2 separate regions of the Homo sapiens genome follow, and region 1 is linked to region 2. Evidence: promoter capture Hi-C in human tissues and cell types (Jung and others, 2019). All regions are on one chromosome and are shown on one strand. Each heading gives the region's core, a stretch centred on a gene start or on the middle of the fragment in contact. The rest is flanking DNA. Distances are from core to core; before and after follow the strand shown.

Region 1 (5,846 bases), core at 912-3,411, 190 kb after region 2:
GAGACTGCGTCTCAAAAATATATATATAAAAATTAGCCAGGCATGGTAGTATGGACCTGTGGTCCCAGCTACTTGGGAGGCTGAGGCTGGAGGATCCCTTGAGTTCTGGAGGTCGAGGCTGCAGTGAGCTATGATCGTGCCTCCACACTCCAGCCTGCGCAACAGAGAGAGACCCTATCCCCACTCCCACCCCTCAAGAAAATTTCCTAAAATTAATCCTGATAACTACTACTCAGAAACTCCCCCACTCCTCCTCAAACTGACCAATTTCCTCTAAGACTCTTCAAACTGTTTTCCTACTGACCCCTGGGGCCCCTACCCGTGGCTTCAGCACCTGTCCGCAACATTCCAGACTCCTAGGAGGCCCGGTCATCTCTGGCCTAGTCCTGATCTTGCCTGTGTCCCTGCAGATACCGTGGAGGGCTCAAATCCCACCATGCGCGGAGTCCTCCAGCGGATCCTGGCCCAGCAGGGCTGGCTAGGGCTGTACCGAGGCATGACCCCCACGCTACTGAAGGTCTTACCAGCAGGTGGCATCAGCTATGTGGTGTACGAAGCCATGAAGAAAACCCTGGGCATATAGGCTGTGAGCTGGACGACACAGCCTAGGCAGAAATGGGACAGGAGGACCTGATGACCCCTGGCCCCAAAGAGCCCTCGAGGCCTCAAGGTTCAGGCCCTGGGGCAGTTTTTGGTGGCAAAAGCAGGCTGGGGGTGGGGGTGGGGCTCTGGGTCAGAAGATTCCTGAAGCTGGGGTTGGTGGTGGGTGGAGGGGGGCAGTGCTGGGTCAGAAAACTCCTGGGACTCCCTCCCCAGGGTGCAGCCTGAGACAAGAAACGTGGACTCCAGTCTGGCCCCTTGTGGGTCGTCCTGGCTCCAGGGCGAAATGGTGAACATGTCACACAACAAGGAATAAAGAGATGGTTTTTGCTGAACGTGTCTGGATACTTGGGCCTAGGAGTGGAACTGGGTGCATGAGATCCCTGGACCCAGTAGGGGAGCTGGGGACCTTGGGCCTCTGGGTCCTGAATGGGAATTTGTGTCCAGGAGAGGAAGTGAGGACCTAGGATAGGAGCTTGAGGCTTGGATCCCAGGGCCTTAGGCGAAGGGAGTGAGGGGTGTGAAGTGAGGGGTGTGATCGAGGCTGTGATCCCTCGATCCCGGTTGTTGGAACGGTTCTGGACTCGTGAGTGGGGCTGGTTCCTTGAGTCCTGCAAGAGAACTGGACGCTCTAGATGGGGGGTCGAGAGAGAAGAAGGCCCGGGGGATCCCGAGTTTCCTGCTTTCCGGCCTCCCCACCTCCGGAAGCGCTCGATCTCTAAGGCTTCAAGCGGGCCACGTGCCGGGCCTACCCAACCAGGCTGCCGGTGAGCTAACCCAGACATCAGGCCTGAGTTCGGGCAGCCGATTGCCACCGCCCACGTCGGCTGCCATTCACTACAGTTCCCGCTAATCCCCTCGCTGTCTGGTGGCCGACTCCGCCCCAATGCAGCGGCGCTTCCACTGGCTCCCACCAAAAGTGGGCGCTTTGATTTCCTTCATTCCCATTTGTCCAGACCAGTGTCAGTCACCGAACACCCACCCATGTCGCTCAGCCATTGGCTTAGAAGTCAGGGATAGAAAAGGATTCTGGTTAACAAGGGAAGCAATTAAAGTCCAAAGCCAACCTCATCACCCAGAACTCGTCAGGAATTGGATTAATTGGCTGCCCATCTTTACAAGCACCACCTCTCACGTGCATTCATTGGCTTGTGTCCACGACTATCAAACCTAACGCCCACCCAGCCGGTCCATAGGAGTCTTCCACTAGGCCCGGCCTTACAGTCCACGTGACTCTTCAGAACCGTCAATCTAATTCTGAAGCCGCCCCGCGAATCTGGCACTCGCGTTTCATTGGGCCTCCTGCCTTCTCAGATCTCCTTCATTTGCCCGCCCAGCACGGGCAGCTCGCAGCTATTGCCTCTGAGAGCTGTCAGTCACTCTGAGCCTCCCGCCCACTGCCCCTCATTGCACTCCGATTGGCCACCTCCTACAGAGCTCGCGATTGGTGTCCGGGGTGCGGCGGCTGCCTCCCATTGGCCCGCCGGAGTCGTCCGTCACGTCGGCGGCGGGAGGGGCGACTCTCTCCCCCCTCGTCGTCCTCCCAGCGGCTGGGTTCCCAGAGTGCTCCGCGGCCGTGTGGAGCGAGGCCTTGTTCCCGCGTTGAGCCGCCGCCGCCGCCGCCGCCTCCTCAGCTTCAGCCTCCGCGCCAGGCCCGGCCCCGCCGCGCCATGTCGGACTACAGCACGGGAGGACCCCCGCCCGGGCCGCCGCCGCCCGCCGGCGGGGGCGGGGGAGCCGGAGGCGCCGGGGGAGGCCCTCCGCCGGGCCCGCCAGGCGCGGGGGACCGGGGCGGCGGCGGTCCCGGCGGCGGCGGCCCGGGCGGGGGGTCGGCCGGGGGCCCCTCTCAGCCACCCGGCGGAGGCGGCCCGGGAATCCGCAAGGACGCTTTCGCCGACGCCGTGCAGCGGGCCCGCCAGGTGAGGAGGCCGAGGGCCTGAGGGGCGCGCTCGCGCGCGCGCGCAGGCGGGGGAGGGGGCGGGGGTCACGTGCGCGCGCGCGCGCAGGGTCGCGGAGGGGGGCCGGGGCCGTCGCGGGGTCACGTGGGCGGTAGGCGGGGGCCTGGCCCTCCCGCTGCGCCTCGAGTGGGATCCCAACGGGTGACCCCCCTGCAGGGAGTAGGGGCGCACTGGGGGTCACCAGGAGCGGCGCCTGGGTGTGCAGGCGCCCCGGAGCTCGGAGACGCACTTTTGGGACCCCCCCCTTAGCCCCCCGGCCTTAGGACATGCCTGGAGGCAGGGGTCCACCTTCCCGGGCGGAGGGCCTTTACTCTCCCCTCCATATCAGGGCAAAGGGCAGTGTTTGCCCCCAACCCAGTCCCATTTCTGTCCCCTCTCTAGGAGAAAGGGACATTGTGGGGGTGGGAGGGACAGTCCTTCCTCTTCAGTCGGGAAAGTGGATGGGGACCTGTCTAGGGCTGAGCACTTGGGCGAAATGGGGAAGACGAGCATGGGGACTGGCTCTTGGATGCTTTGGTGGCTTGAAAGCGTGGTCTGTCTCTTTGGGGGAAAGAAGGGAGGGTCTCCCACCCCCGTGTATTGAGGCGTAATGACAAGGAAGTGTCACATGCTGCTAGGACTGACCTCTCCAGCTCCATTTGCAGCCTCCCCATGGCCTGGAGGGGTGGGGGTCGGTAGAATGGGAGGACTTTGCCGCCGACCGGCTCCTGGGCTGTCCCAATGCCTCCGGGGCTAGAGACTGGCTCCTCCCAAGGTGGGAGGTCCCGTTAAGTGAACGCCTGTGTTCTGGCCCTCTGTCGTCTCTCTCACCCTTGGAGTTGGGTGGGTTCTAGCGTGCATTTGGTCTTATTGCCCATGGAACCGTCTGATTCTGGGACAGCTTGAAGGGAGGAAGCTGGTGCTGTCAGTTGGTGGGGACAGGCCCCCTGTGGGCATCCCATGAGTTTTGGCTCTAGGGCAGCGTAGAAAAATGGAGACTGGTGGAAAGGGAGATTCTTAACATGGTTTGGGTTTCTAAACCCCAGACTCTGATCCTAAGTTTGCTGGGTTGAGGTTTCTTTAAAGTTGCTCTTCACGTGTCTGAGATGTAACTTGTGTCCCATAGAGTCTTGGTTTTTTGTTTGTTTGTTTGTTTTTTGGAAACAGTCTCAATATCACCCAGGCAGGGGTGCAGTGGCACGATCTCAGCACACCACAGCCTCCACCTCTCCAGTTGAAGTGCTCCTCCTGCCTCAGCCTCCCGAGTAGCTGGGATTATAAGTGTGCACCACCACACCCAGCTAATTTTTGTATTTTTAGTAGAGATGGAGTTTGACCATGTCAGCCAGTCTGTCTCGAACTCCTGAGTTCAAGTGATCTGCCCGCCTCGGCCTCCCAAAATGCTGGGATTACAGGCATAAGTCACAGTGCCCAGCCATCCAGAGAGTCTTCTGTTTTGGTCAAATGAGGATTTCATATCCCTTGAAGTGATCGCTTTGCTCAAATTTATTCAATAAATTGATAAAAGGATTTTGAGAGTGGGGGAGATAGGGGAAAATTGAACTCTTCAGCATCCCAGGAAAACGGGGCTAAAAAAAAACACACTTTCTGGTTTTCTGAGCTGGGGCCACTGGCAGGAGGAAGTGTCTGAAAGCTCTTGGAGATGACCTGGGAACCCTCCCTGACACCTGAGCCTCTGTTCCTTGTCACCCCTAGAACGAAGTCAGTGTGGATTATGGGCTGGCCACAATTAAGACACAAATCCCAGGAGAAGGGAAGAGGGGAATTTTGATATTCCCAGTTAACTGGTGAGAACCTTGAGGCCTAGGTTCAAAACTCCTAGGATGTCTTAACCAACTGACTCTTCCCTAAGTTGGAGGGCCAGACACCAAGACCTGATGGGCTTTCGTGTCCAGGAGATGTTCTGAGAAGTTGACCTGGGTGCCATGGAGGGTTGTTTTTGGTGGTAATTCTTCTGTGCTTACTACTTTATTCTAGATTGCAGCCAAAATTGGAGGCGATGCTGCCACGACAGTGAATAACAGCACTCCTGATTTTGGTTTTGGGGGCCAAAAGAGACAGTTGGAAGATGGAGGTAACTCCCTGCTGCTGCCTTTAGCTTAGGAGGAAGGGCTGGGGGCCTAAAGAGGTGCTTTTGTTTGAGTGTGGTTCAGAGGGGGTGGGTGTCACTGTTGTTTGGTCTTTTAAAACCTCAGCAATCCCGGCCTTGTTAATTCTTCTTGTTCCGTCTGCCATCCTGAGGTATCAGGTGGCAGAGAGGAGGGCAGATTGATTGTGACTGGGTCGAAGTTGTAAGTTCCCAAGATGATTCCTCCCTTTCTGGGAGGCTGAGGCAACCTGGAGCAGTTACTGAGGCTTGATGTGAAGTTGGCCCAGCTCTGGGGTGCGTAGTGTGACCCCAAGTAGCGGATGATCAACCCTGACCAACTCCACTGTTATCCACGACACCCTCCCTGCTAGAGGCAGGTCCTGTCCTAAACCGGGAGGACTCAGGTGCCTGGTGGTGGTTGCGTGTTCTGAAGGCTTTTTTACTCTGAGCGTTGGTGGCGGAATTGGCGGGGTCTGGCCTCCCTCAGGGGCCAGTCTCTCCTGGGCTCCTGTCTCAGCTCCTGTTAAGGGTGGGGGCCGAGGGGCACTGTTTACCTTGGACATGTGGCACCAGCATCAGGTTCGAGGCGGCCGTGGGTGGGTGGGTGCTGCATCTGCCATCCTCTCTCTTTCCCAGATCAACCGGAGAGCAAGAAGCTGGCTTCCCAGGGAGACTGTAAGTCCAGGGGGTCTGGTGGCAGATATGTGGCTTCAGAGGGTTGAGGTTTTCAGGAGTCAGGAGCTGGAAGCACTGAGGAGGTGGCAGCTCTTTACAGAGGCCCCTGGTGCTTCATTCTGGGGCCCATACGTTTGAGGGATCCCAGGAACCCTGAAATTGAGGGAGATGAGCTCTGTGCTTTTATGGGGAGGAATCCACAGCATCCATGAGGCACTGGAGCAGGCTGGGGACCGTGGTGCCGGGCTCAGCTCCCACTGACCCGGGGCAGGCAGTGCCAAGTGCCCGAGGAGGAGCTAAGCCAGTCTTTGCTTTGGGTTTTCTCTCTACAGCAATCAGTTCTCAACTTGGACCCATCCATCCTCCCCCAAGGTAAGCCATGGTGGGGCCCACACTGCTTTCTTGTCTGTTGGCCAGCAGACTGGCCTTTCTGCTGACTTGGGAGGGCTCTGACTGGGGGCACATCTCTCAGGTTTTATCCCCCAGTGCCAGTTGACCAGAGTGCTCAGACGGGAATGAGGCAG
Region 2 (5,413 bases), core at 1,562-4,061:
TTATTTTGTTCTTTTGGTGATGTCATGTTTCTCTGATTATTCATGATCCTTATGGCCTTGCATTAGTGTCTGTGCATTTGAAGTAGTCAGTTCTTTACATACTGGCTTTAGCAGGAAAAGCACTTTGCCAGTCAGCCTATCTAGAGATTCTAGGCAGCCTGTTTGGTGGGGAGTTGCTGGTGGACTTCTCGCTGGAGTCCTTGAGAGGGATTGCCTGGTGCCTATTTCAGCAAGAGAGGAGGCTTGGCACCTGGTTCCACAGGGGCTGACCTGGTGCCTGGATCCCCTGGGATGGAACTGGAGTTTGAGTCCACATGAATGATTGCGTGTGTGTGTGTGTGTGTGTGTGTGTGTGTGTGATAACAGATCAATTTTAATTCTAGCACCTGAAGCTATACAAGGGTATGCTCTATAAACTTCATGGGACTGTTGCACATGCTGGATAAAATGACATCTGTGCAATACCACTTAGCATCTCAAAATCAGGAACATACTATTGAATTGCTTAAACACAATCCACAGAATTAAAAACAAAAGCAGATGCCATCCACAGTTACACTAATTGTCCATTAAAAGTTTACACTTAATGCTTGATATAACAATCAATATCTAGCAGGGAATATTGAAAGGGATTTCAGAGTCTCATCCTGTTGTACTCTATTGGGAAGGTTTCTTGAGTACATATGTGACTGGCCAAAGATGGATACAACCAAGACCAGACCAGCAAGTAAAAGTTCTACAACAGTTTCTGTAGTTTCCACTTGCTTTTCTCTGGACAGCCTGTATCCGTGTTCGCTAAAGTGGAACTCGGGCTCAGGTCTGCAGTGCAGCCAGGAACTCACTTTACTCTCCATCCCCCATGAAGTGGGTTTCTCTCTCTGTGCTGCCTTGGGTTCAGGAAGGGGATGATGCAGATCAAGTGAAACTCTTTCCTACCATCTTCAGTACATCTTTTCTTTTCTTTTTCTTGTTTTTCTTTCTTTTTGCCTTTTTTTTTTTTTTTTTTTTTTTGAGATGGAGTCTCGCTCTGTCGCCCAGGTTGGAGTGCAATGGCGCGATCTCGGCTCACCGCAACCTCTGCCTCCCGGTTCAAGACATTCTTCTGCCCCAGCCTCCTGAGTACCTGGGATTACAGGTGCGTCCACCACGTCTGGCTAATTTTTTTTTTGTATTTTTAGTAGAGATGGGGTTTCTCCATGTTCATCAGGCTGGTTGGAACTCCTGACCTCAGGTGATCCACCCACCTCGGCCTCCAAAAGTGCTGGAATTACAGGCGTGAGCCACCATGCTCGGCCTATCTTTTCTTACCGTTATTTTCCATTCAAGTTCTGTGGTCTCTCAGCTGATTCTTTGACTCTTGTGAAAGTATTTTTCTGCACAGAAGATTATTGAAATGAATGTTTCTGTGAAAGGATAAAGGTTCGAAACATATCCTGCCACATTGTTGACTCACTCTCAGAGTCATGCCCAGTCTTGCCAATTTCCACTGTTGAATAAGGGGGATTCCACGTGGTTTTACTTTTTTTTGGAGTAATGTAGCTAAATATGCTCTCTAGTATTGTCCACTTGTATATTATTTTATGTGAAGTGTTGCTTCACATCTTTTATATCTTTTAAAAGTAGGTTGTCTTTTTCTTTTTGCCTTACAGAATTTTTTTTTTTTTGTGACAGAGTCTCGCTCTGTTGCCCAGGCTGGAGTACAGTGGCACGATCTCAGCTCACTGTAACCTCTGCCTCCCAGGTTGAAGTGATTCTCCTGCCTCAGCCTCCTGAGTAGCTGGGATTACAGGTGCACACCACCACGCCCAGCTAATTTTTTTTTTTTTTTTTTTTTTTTTTTTTGAGAAGGAGTCTTGCTCTGTCGCCCAGGCTGGAGTGCAGTGGCATGATCTCGGCTCACTGCAAGCTCCGTCTCCCAGGTTCATGCCATTCTCCTGCCTCAGCCTCCCAAGTAGCTGGGACTACAGGCGCCCGCCACCATGCCCGGCTAATTTTTTGTATTTTTAGTAGAGACGGGGTTTCACCGTGTTAGCCAGGATGGTCTCGATCTCCTGACCTCGTGATCCGCCCGCCTCAGCCTCCCAAAGTGCTGGGATTACAGGCATGAGCCACTGCACCCGGCCAAGCAATTATTTTTATAATCCCACTGGATTGTAGTCCCTGATGGCACTAATACCACACTGTTTAACTTGCTGTAGCCTTTTAATAAGACTCAATATATAGTAGAGTCTCTCCATTCTGTTCTTTTTACAGATCATCTTGTCTTTCTTAGTTCTTTGCATTTCCCTGTGTTTTTATTAGAATCAGTCTCTCTCTCTCTCTCTCCTCTCTCTCTCTCACGCGCACACACATACACACACACACACGTATACTTCCTGCTGAGGTATTGACTGGGATTGCATTGAATCTATAGATCAATAGATATTGGTGTAGAATTGGTGTCTTCATGGTATTAAATGTTCCAACCTCTTGGCCATGGTATATCCTTCTATTTATTTAAGCTTTCTTTAATTTTCTCAGTAACATTTTATGGTTTTTGGTGTAGAATTTATATAGTGCTTCCATTAGATGTAGTCCCAGGTATTTGATATATTTTTGTTGAGTTTGTAAATGACATAGTTTTACATGTCTTTTCTAGTTGACAGTGGTATATAAAAATATGATTTATTTTTGTACTTTGGCTTTGCCTCCGGTGTTGTTGCTAAATCAATATATTAAAACTATGTGTAGGCCGGGCGCAGTGGCTTATGCCTGTAATCCCAGCACTTTGGGAGGCTGAGGTGGGCGGATCCCCTGAGGTCAGGAGTTTGAGACCAGCCTGGGCAACATGGTGAAACCTCATCTCTACTAAGAATACAAAAATTAGCCGGGTGTGGTAGTGCATGCCTGTAATCCCAGCTACTCAGGAGGCTGAGGCAACAGAATTGCTTGAACCCGGGAAGAGAAGGTCGTGGTGAGCCAAGATATACCACTGTACTCCAGCCTGGGCAACAGAGCAAAACTCTGTCTCAAAAAAAAAAAAAAAAAAAAAAAACTATGTGTAGGTTGGGCGTGGTGGCCCACACCTGTAATCCAAGTACTTTGGAAGGCTGAGATGGGTGGATCACCTGAGACCAGAAGTTTGAGACCACCCTGGCCTACACGATAAAACCACATCTCTACTAAAACTACAGAAAAAATTAGCTGGGTGTGGTGGTGAGCACCTGTTGTCCCAGCTACTTGGGAGGTTGAGGGAGGAGAATTGCTTGAACCTGGGAGGCAGAGGTTGCAGTGAGCCGAGATTGCACCACTGCACTCCAGCCTGGGCGACACAGTGAGTCCATCTCAAAAGTAAAAATAAAACTATGTGTAGATTATTTAGAATTTTCTTTTTTTTTTTTTTTTGAGACAGAGTCTCACTCTGTCACCCAGGCTGGAGTGCAGTGGTGTGATCTCGGCTCACTGTAAGCTCCACCTCCTGGGTTCACGCCATTCTCCTGCCTCAGCCTCCCAAGTAGCTGAGACTACAGGCGGCTAGTTCTTTGTATTTTTAGTAGAGACAGGGTTTCACCGTGTTAGCCAGGATAGTCTCGATCTCCTGGCCTCATGATCCACCCACCTCGGCCTCCTAAAGTGCTGGGGTTACAGGCGTGAGCCACAATGACTGGCCTAGAATTTTCTACATACATAATGAAGTAATCTCTAAATAATGACTCATTTCTTCCTATTCAATCTTTTTGTCTCATTGCATTGACTAAAACCTCAAGTTCAATATTAGCTAACTCATTTCCTAATTTTAAAAAACGTGCAGCTCACTGCCAGAGTTCATTTAACTTTACATAAACACACTTGTTGAGGCTGAAGCAAATCTGGTTGAGTTTCAATGTGCAAATAAAATATAAAAACTGTTCTTGGAGTTATTTCTGAACAGAATTTGTCTCTAATCCTAATGTAGCAGAAATGTATATGATGTTACATTGGGATTAGAGACAAGAGTATTCTCGGGGCAAATGGGAAATGGGTTAAAAGTAGTAATAACAATCCTGGCCGGGTGTGGCGGCTCACGCCTGTAATCCCAGCATTTTGAGAGGCCAAGGTGAGCAGATCACCTGAGGCCAGGAGTTCGAGACCAGCCTGGTCCAACGTGGCGAAATATCATCTCTACTAAAAATACAAAAATTAGCCAGGCATGGTGGTGGGCACCTGCAATCCCAGCTACCCGGAAGGATGAGGCAGGAGAATTGCTTGAACCCGGGAGTTGGAGGTTGCAGTGGGCCAAGATTATGCCACTGCACTCCAGCCTGGGTGACAAACTGAGACTTCATCTCAAAAAAAAAAAAAAAAAGAGAACATAAATTATTCTACTATAAAGACACACGCACCATATGTTTATTGCAGCACTATTTACAATAGCAAAGTCATGGCACCAACCCAAATGTCCATCGATGATAGACTGGATAAAGAAAATGTGGTACCTATACACCATGGAATACTACGCAGTCATAAAAAGGAAAGAGATCGTGTCCTTTGCAGGGACATGGATGAAGCTGGAAACCATCACCCTCAGCAAACTAACACAGGAACAGAAAACCAAACACCGCATGTTCTCACTCATAAGTGGGAGCTGAACAATGAGAACACATGGACACAGGGAGGGGAACGTCACACATCGGGCCTGTTGGGGGGTGAGAAGTGAGAGGAGGCAACTTAGAGGACGGGTCAGCAGGTGCAGCAAACCGCCATGGCACACATATACTTATGTAACAAACCTGCATGTTCTGCACATGTATCCCGGAACTTAAAGTTAAAAAAAAAAAATTGACCGGGCGCGGTGGCTCACACCTGTAATCCCAGCACTTTGGGAGGCCAAGGCGGGCGGATCACGAGGTCAGGAGATCGAGACCATCCTGGCTAACACGGTGAAACCCCGTCTCTACTAAAAATACAAAAAATTAGCCGGGCGTGGTGGCAGACACCTGTAGTCCCAGCTACTCGGGAAGCTGAGGCAGGAGAATGGCATGAACCTGGGAGACGGAGCTTGCAGTGAGCCGAGATCACGCCACTGCACTCCAGCCTGGGCAAGAGAGCAAGACTCCGTCTCAAAAAAGAAAAAAAATTAGCCAGGTGTGGTGGTACACACCCATAATCCCAGCTACTCAGGAGGCTGAGGCAGGAGAATGGCATGAACCCGGGAGGCAGAGGTTACAGTGAGCTGAGAGCACACCACTGCAGTCCAGCTTGGGCGAAAAGAGCCAGACTCCATCTCAAAAAAAAAAAAAAATCACCAACATATTTTCTATCTCTGGTTTCTCAAAAACTAAGGATTACTTACCTTATTAAATCTTCACATACCCCTACTGAATCCCTGGGTAGATGCGTTCTCTCTGTTTACTAACCAAAATATTAAATATAATCATTGCAACTCTCTCTTATG

Evidence for each region. The method cuts DNA at HindIII sites, captures the fragments that hold promoters and counts their contacts. A contact is called where the count stands out against the background at its distance.
Region 1: a contact is called between the fragment with the promoter of KHSRP here and a fragment that was not itself captured in region 2, in 1 of the 25 tissues and cell types used here (pancreas).

Annotation. Positions count from the first base shown.
Region 1 is chr19:6,421,126-6,426,971 of GRCh38, reverse strand. It overlaps KHSRP (KH-type splicing regulatory protein), which reads left to right and starts at 2,161. Exons shown (of 19, transcript NM_001366299.1): 1 at 2,161-2,519; 2 at 4,536-4,632; 3 at 5,284-5,322; 4 at 5,655-5,694. The coding sequence starts at 2,271. SLC25A41 (solute carrier family 25 member 41) reads left to right here. Exons shown (of 7, transcript NM_173637.4): 7 at 411-935. The coding sequence ends at 583. RefSeq lists an enhancer at 1,734-1,853. The HindIII fragment of the contact is 26,210 bases long and covers 1-5,846 here.
Region 2 is chr19:6,612,174-6,617,586 of GRCh38, reverse strand. No RefSeq gene overlaps it. Among named protein-coding and RNA genes, the nearest start is that of CD70, 24 kb to the right of the region's middle. RefSeq lists an enhancer at 1,390-1,609. The HindIII fragment of the contact is 5,013 bases long and covers 305-5,317 here.